Linked DNA regions of Homo sapiens: region 1 is linked to region 2. The links are contacts of gene promoters, found by promoter capture Hi-C in blood cells and fetal thymus (Javierre and others, 2016). All regions are on one chromosome and are shown on one strand. Each heading gives the region's core, a stretch centred on a gene start or on the middle of the fragment in contact. The rest is flanking DNA. Distances are from core to core; before and after follow the strand shown.

Region 1 (3,413 bases), core at 115-2,614, 450 kb after region 2:
TGAAAAACCTGAATGTGCATAGTTAACAAAATTATTTTTGGTAATTATTTACTAAGGCTGCATAGTTTTATGCTCACTACTTAAAAAAAAAAAAGAAAAAAAGAAAAAAGAAGTGTTAGAAAAGATCTGGAGATGAAAGTTTCTCTAGCTTGAAATATGATTTTTGGCCAGGTGCGGTGGCTCACACCTGTAATCCTAGCACTCTGGGAGGCCGAGGAGGGTGGATCGCCTGAGGTCAGGAGTTCGAGACCAGACTGGGCAACATGGTGTAACCCCATCTCTACTAAAAATACAAAATCGGCCGGACCTGGAGGTGCGTGCCTGCAATCCCAGCTACTTGGGAGGCTGAGGCAGGAGAATCACTTGAACTTGGGAGGCAGAGGTTGCAGTGAGCCGAGATCACGCCACTGTACTCCAGCCTGGGCAATCGAGTGAGACCCGTCTCAAAAAAAAAAAAAAGAAAAAAGAAAAAAAGGAAAAGAAATATGATTTTCAATAGTAACCTACCAACCAGATAGGTCTTAACACTTTTCTTTTCAGTAATGAGGAAGTTAGGCTCAACCTAACCAGTTAAAATGAAAATTTAAACAAAATGGAATTTTCACCCTCAAGAACATAGGAAATGTAGAAGTCTGACTAGAATGTCAAATACCGATTAGGGTATGGGGAGTGAAATCAGTACGGCCATTTTGGAAAGTAATTTTGCTATGTCTAGGAAGATTCAAAATACTATGTAACCCGTGATGCAGCTAACCCATTCTGGGTACATAATCCAGAGCCGATTAAGATGCACAGCACAAAATTTATGATTAAGATACACAGCACAAAATTTATTTTGTATCACACCATAAACTTTTTTATTGAAACCTACAGTAGGAAATACATTTTATATCACAACTCAGAACACAATTACATATATTTCATGAAAAAGTAAGTACCTTTTACCCTGACACTTTGTACTGCATTCTATTCTGAAAAGTACAGACTCCAACTTACTACACTGCCTTCGTTACCTGCTGTTTGGAAAACACTGCTCTAAAAACCTGTAGCAATATATACAAGACAACATTTATAAGGTTGTTCACTGTGATATTGTTTAAAATGGAGAAAAAACGATGTTACTTACATATTCATTAATAGGTAGATAACTGCAAAATACAATGTAATATTATGAAGTAATTAATGGTTTAAAGTAGATTTCTCTATGTAATGTAATATGTATACTTCTTATGTAATATGTATACATCTTAAAAATACAATGCAGGGTGAAAAAAACAAGAAAAAATGTTCCCAGAATATCATTTATGTAAATTTCTAACAATATCATATTATGTTTATGAATATATATACACAGATATAAAATTATGAAAATGGTATGGAAGTATATATTTTAATATATTAACTCACAGTGGACTAGGGGTACTCATACAGTATAGGCTGGTTAAAGAGGACTTCAGCATTATATATGTAATGTTTTCATTTTTGAAGAGCTATTTAAATGTTACTTTAAAATAGTTATTTGAAAGAGTTGCAGCAAGTTCTGAGAATTTACTTGGTAAAATGGGAGTAGAGGCGAGAAGAAATGAGGTATAAAGGAGTAGAACCAGGTTATTAATATCCCAATGCTCAAATCAATGAATATGAGAAAAAAATAAGCTGCAATAAATAAATAAATAAATAAATGAGAAAGAGAGTGAGAGAGAGAGACCAAAATCACAGACTAAGGAATTATTAGGGAGGTATATAGCAATAGCTGGGGGAAAAAACATGAAGTGGGCTGAAAAGGCAGGAAGAAAAGGCCTAACAACTGGTAAACTGATCCATTCCTCATTGGTGGTTCAACTGTATAAATAAAAGGGTGGCAGCTTAGCGGGAAAGTACTTAGCAACTCTGTTTACACAGACAATAGAAAGTGCCACTAGAGTGGCAAATTGAACTGTGCAAGGCCAATTAACCCTTTCACCTTAGTGTTTCATACTAGCTATCTTACTTACTGTCCCTCTGTTAGATCTACACTGATAAGTGTTAGGACCAAATGCAATTATAAATCATTGTTACATGTATTGATGAATTCTGCAAATTCCATGAAGCACATTAATTTTACTTAGTGTTCTGAATACCTTCTTTGCTGCTCTCATCTGGTTTTAATTAAGAAACACTTTCAAAGGAAGAGAGGTTATCCAGAAACTCAAACTACACATGTCCTTCATTAAACTATGAATTGATTACTATTCAACTTTTTTGGCCTAAAGGTTTTTTTAAAAAGTTAGATTCACCTCAAGTTTCTTCTAGATAAATTATGGGAAAATTAGGGAAAGAGTAACATATTTAGATGGGCAAAAATATAATAGGGAAATCTTAAAATGCACTGAAGAGGTCCATAAATTAGCTGCTGCATAAGCAGCTTTATCTATATTACAGTTTATTACTTTTAAGAGAAACTTTGAATCTTGAAGGACCATACAATAAGATTTTTTTTCAAAAGACAGTAATAGATTTATTGCTGGAAACTGTATTCATCTTCCTGATTCCAAAATACAGTCATGTATCTTCTTTATCCATATTTGAGAACCAGGATCAAATTTTTACATAGCCTACAAAATCTAGAAAAGTATATACCAACCAGGCATGCAACATTTGGTAATGAACATATTGTAAAATGTTGGCATATGTAAAAGGCTTTGATTCTATGAGGTAGGGCCAATAATAAAAGCATGTGATTGTTCAGTCGTAAACTAAGGCAATCCATACAAACATTTATTAACTGTTACACTGTCTTTTCCCTACTACCCACAGGTCCTGAAAGTACCAACATCATCCCACTGTCATCTGAAATTACATGCCACATCTTCTTCTGGCCAGTTATTTGTCACTGAATCTTTGTAGTAATAATTCCTAAGACGCTAGTCAAATAATAGGAAAATGCCAACAGACCATATTAGTGGGGGAGAGTTAAAAGGAATATGTACATACTGTATTTCTTAACCCATCAAAAATCAACAGAAGTCTGAAAAGGTTACCCTTGCATTTTAGGAGTAAGCGATGTTTTCCAGTTCTGTTTTTTTTCTCAGCTCTTCCCACTAAGCAACAAAACGCAAACGAGCTAGAGAATTCTGCCTTCCTTATGCTACAGAGGCTATGTTTAATGACTCCTGTGGCCATGTTAAAATCAGTGGAGGAAGAGACAAACACTGCAGCTTCTGCCTTTCTCTAAGTCTTCTTGAATGCCGCCGGCCCACCCACTAGGCTCCCCTATTTCTCTTTTCTTCCGTAACAACAACAGCACAAACATTGCAAAAGCAACCAATCAAAACAAGTAGCATCAGTAAAGGGGCAATGGGGCCAATGGTAAGCAACAGAAGCAAAAAGCAGTGACAGTCTCCAATTTGCTCTCATCAATGAGTCAGAGCATA
Region 2 (3,736 bases), core at 204-2,703:
GGGTAGTGTTTTGTTTGTGTTTTAAAAAAACACATGGCACAACAAACGTTATGGAAAACGCACTCATTCCGTTAAATGCCGATACAAACCTGCCTTTTACTACATCTGTCTAAGCAGCGCATTGCTAAGTATAAACTTAAAAAAATTTTTTTTTCTCAAAGACATATCTATTATTTCTTGGCAAATACTATTTGGTGATGTGGTGCAAAAACACAATGGTAAAAAATTTCGGGGTATTTGTAAGTTTTCTGGAGAGTTGCAGGCCCCTTTCCTTTTGAAAGTTTAGAGCTCCAATACCCTCAATTCTACTGGCAGAATTAGGATGGACTTAGAGGGTCCTAAACGTGACCGATTCACTAAGGCGGGGGGGGGGGGGGGCTACAGCTTGCAGCAACGTGCTCTGCAACTTAATCCTACGCTAAAAGAGGGCAGAGAGCGAAAAAGAATGGAATACAAACTCTCCCGACATCCGTAGTTACTTTCAAGGTGGATTGTGTATTTTAAGGCTGATGGGAACGTCTGGTTTGTGGAGCAAAAAGAAGAGAAGGTAAGTGTTTGTCCTTGTATCCACCAGTTCGTAGAGAAACAATGAAAGAACAAAGGGAACCACTTCCCCATCTGAACATTTTCTGTATCTCCCTCCGTTTCAAGCCAAAAAGCTTGGGAAGGGATTCGCTTTACTCTACCTTAAGTAGTGGTTGCTGGCTTGTTGAACTAAGAATGAGAAAAAAGTTGAGAGGCAGATATAGACTAAATAATAATAAAAAAGGCTTGCTGTGGCGGATCTCCACCGCGCCAGTGTCAGCAACTTGCAGCAGAAGTTGCTCAATGCACGGAGGCAAAGCCCAAGAAATACCCTTTGCACACCAGATTTCGAACTCAGTCATTTAAATAGACTTTCTTGCTGTTTGAAGGGGTTTCTGCGCACAAAATGTGTAGGTAGTGGCTATGGGAGAGATGTACTATTTAGGTCGAAAAATGATCTCATGGCTATCTGGAAAAGAATTTTTAAAAAGGAAAGGGGATTCAAGTATCACGTTACTGTTTGCTAATAGAAGAAATGGCAGCACTGGCTGGGAAAGGAGAGGGATTCGTATTGAAATGCATTTGCTTTGGGGTACGCTGGTTATCCGCAAGTCTGGCTTTGTGGGTCTGCGTGGCTGAATAAGTGACCAAGTGCCTTCGGCATTATATAAACGGATCGATGTGTGCGGGAGTCCCCAAAGCCGTCGAGCACGTGAAACGCGACTTTTTACTGCCCTCCAAGCGGCGACCAAGCCCCGCTCCACCCCACCCCGCCTCAAAATCCGTATATTACCTGCCCTGTTACAGTGACACATGTTTATGTTTATAGTCCTGGTTTGTAGTAGTGTCAAGAACCGCAGCAAGAGGAAGGGGAGGAGAGAGGAGAGGGAGGAGTAAATTCAACCACCCCCACTTGTTGTTAAAGCAAATTTACTGCGTTATTGCAAGCTCAGGACGGGGGGCTGGGATGAGAGTTGAGAGGAAGGGTTGAGTTGGGAAGTGTGTTGGCGGTGGAAGGTGGGGGTGGGGTTAAGAGCTCCGCAATGGAGCTCCTCTCCCCAGCAGCCCAGGAAAAGCAGCTCGGTCAATAGGGGAGCATGCTGGCGCGGTCGAAAACAAAAAGGTTCCTCCTGCTCGCTGCGTTCACGTGGGGGGCTCTGCACGCGGGGCTCCAGGGCCGTGACCCCTGACCCCGGCTCCTCTCCGCGCTCTCCGGTGCCGCGCGGCCACTTTTTACCCAGGATCCCTCGCGCGGGCCGCGCTCGTGCCGAGCTGGAGTCCTTCCTAATCCTCCATTCCCGGCTCTCGCTCCCCGCCCCCGCCGCCAGCCCCGGGGGAGGATTCTCCGGCGGGGAACCCCCGCCCCACCCCCACCCCGACTGCCCCGGCGGAGTCGGCCGCAGCGAGTCCGCGCGGGGCGGGGAGGGCCGGGCCGGGCCTCCCCTACCGCGCCGGGCCTGCGAGGGAGGGGAGGGACGGGGAGCCGAGGGGAGGGGGCGCCGGCCTCCCGGCTCAGCTGCCCCACTGAGGCCTGGACCTGTTGACTGCGATTGGCCCGCCTCATCCCGCGCCCTCTCTCTGCTCGCAGCGGCCCCAGCCCTTCCGCGGCGTCGCGGGGAGGAAATGGGGATGGCTGTCCTCCTCTCCGCCTCCTTCTAACTTTCCTTTTTTTATTTGGGTGTGTTGGGGGGGGTGCTGAGAAAGCCCAGGCAACTCCACCGCCGCCCCATCCTGCCTCCGAAAGTCTCGTCACGCCCGACCCGCCGCCGCCCTCCCAGCCCCCATGACTTAAAACCGCCTCCCCTCCTCGCAGCGGCGCCCCGGCCCGGAGCCCGAGAGCCCTCGACGCCCCCGCCGCGCCTCCCCCGCCTGGCCTGGCCCAGCGGCGTCCCCAGCGAATTGTGTCGCTTTTCTGCCCTGGAAGCTCCCTCGGCCACGTTCCACTTTTTTTCCCAGTCCCAGGAGGCGTAAGATAAAACCTCTGATTTGCTGCGTGCTGCCGGGCACATTCTCTGCCCTCTCGTCCGAAGGACGAGTTTAAAATGGAGAGTTTAAAATAATAGCATTTACAGGAGGAAATAAAGAGCGAGGAGATGGTTCTTTGGCCGGTTTTAAGACATACATGCTTTTTTTTTCTTTTAATACAAGATGTCTTAAGGGTTAAAAGCGTTCTAGGGTTTGCTGTATTTCCTTCTAGATTTGGGGTTTCCTGAGGAAATCTTTTCCGGAGGGAAATAGCAAATCAACATTAAGATGGAAGCGAGACTTCTCAGCCACTTTTGGAAATGAAGGGGGAAATTGTAAAAATACATTCAGAAAAGGGCGCGAAGGCGGCGGCTGAGGGGAAGAAGCTGGAGTCTTGGGAGGAAGCGCAGTGGGTTGGAATCGGGGGAAGGAGGGCCCGCTAGGTCCGGGCGGGGAAGAAGGCGTGCGGGCGGCGGGGCGTGCGCCGGGCCGGGCAGCTGGAGGAAGGCGCGGCGGGACTGGCGAGCGCGAAGAGGCAGGCGGGGAAGGCCTCGGGGGGCGGGGGCCGGGCGCGGGGCCGGCGCGCCGGAGGAAGCGGGACCTGGCTCCTCGCGCCCGCCGGGCCGCCCCCATTGTTCTGCCCTAGCACCGCTGTTAGCCGAGCACGTCCTGACCGAGGGAGGGGCCCCGCGGGCCAACCCGACCCCCGTCGGCGCCTCCCCGGGCTCCTGAGCTCCGGCCGGGTCGGGTCGGGCCGGCGCGGCAAGTTTTGATGGTCAGACTCAGCCAGCGAGGGGTTCCCAGCTGAAGACCTCGGAGGAAGGAGCCTTTACAGCGTGCTGCGAAATTGAAGGAAGCCGGGCGAGCCTGCAACGCACACGTTATGAGAAAAAGGGAAAGCAACATAGATATGTTTATAAAGTGATAAATAGATAAGAGACACCCGTGGGCAGTTATTATTCTGGATCCGGAAAGTTACAGTAGATTATATAATATTTGAAATATCTTGAAAAGTATGGATTCAAAAATCCATTTAAAAAAAGGTTCAAAGGAATTCGGAAAAGCACGTTTCGCTATCCTTATTACTGATTACTCAGCTCTTCTTTGTACACAGAAAGTCTAGTTTTAAAAGGAAAGGCTGAGCTAGCCCTTTCAAAAACGGGCTTCCTTTAACGTGAAGTGCGTTTTCAAAATAGGGAATTTCAAAAGGGAAAAACGTTTAATTTGCTTTTAAGCCACGTTTTGG

What was found. The method cuts DNA at HindIII sites, captures the fragments that hold promoters and counts their contacts. A CHiCAGO score of 5 or more calls a contact.
Region 1: a contact is called between a fragment that was not itself captured here and the fragment with the promoter of SKIDA1 in region 2, in 1 of 17 cell types (erythroblasts). The highest score is 5.6, in erythroblasts.

What each region holds. Positions count from the first base shown.
Region 1 is chr10:21,973,656-21,977,068 of GRCh38, forward strand. All of the region lies in intron 1 of DNAJC1 (DnaJ heat shock protein family (Hsp40) member C1), which reads right to left. Among named protein-coding and RNA genes, the nearest start is that of DNAJC1, 28 kb to the right of the region's middle. The HindIII fragment of the contact is 5,267 bases long and covers 1-3,413 here.
Region 2 is chr10:21,524,229-21,527,964 of GRCh38, forward strand. SKIDA1 (SKI/DACH domain containing 1) reads right to left here and starts at 1,454. Exons shown (of 4, transcript NM_207371.4): 1 at 1,319-1,454. RefSeq lists enhancers at 846-1,489, 1,490-2,133 and silencers at 1,789-2,208, 2,329-2,478, 2,924-3,043, 3,054-3,373, 3,233-3,391. The HindIII fragment of the contact is 4,259 bases long and covers 658-3,736 here.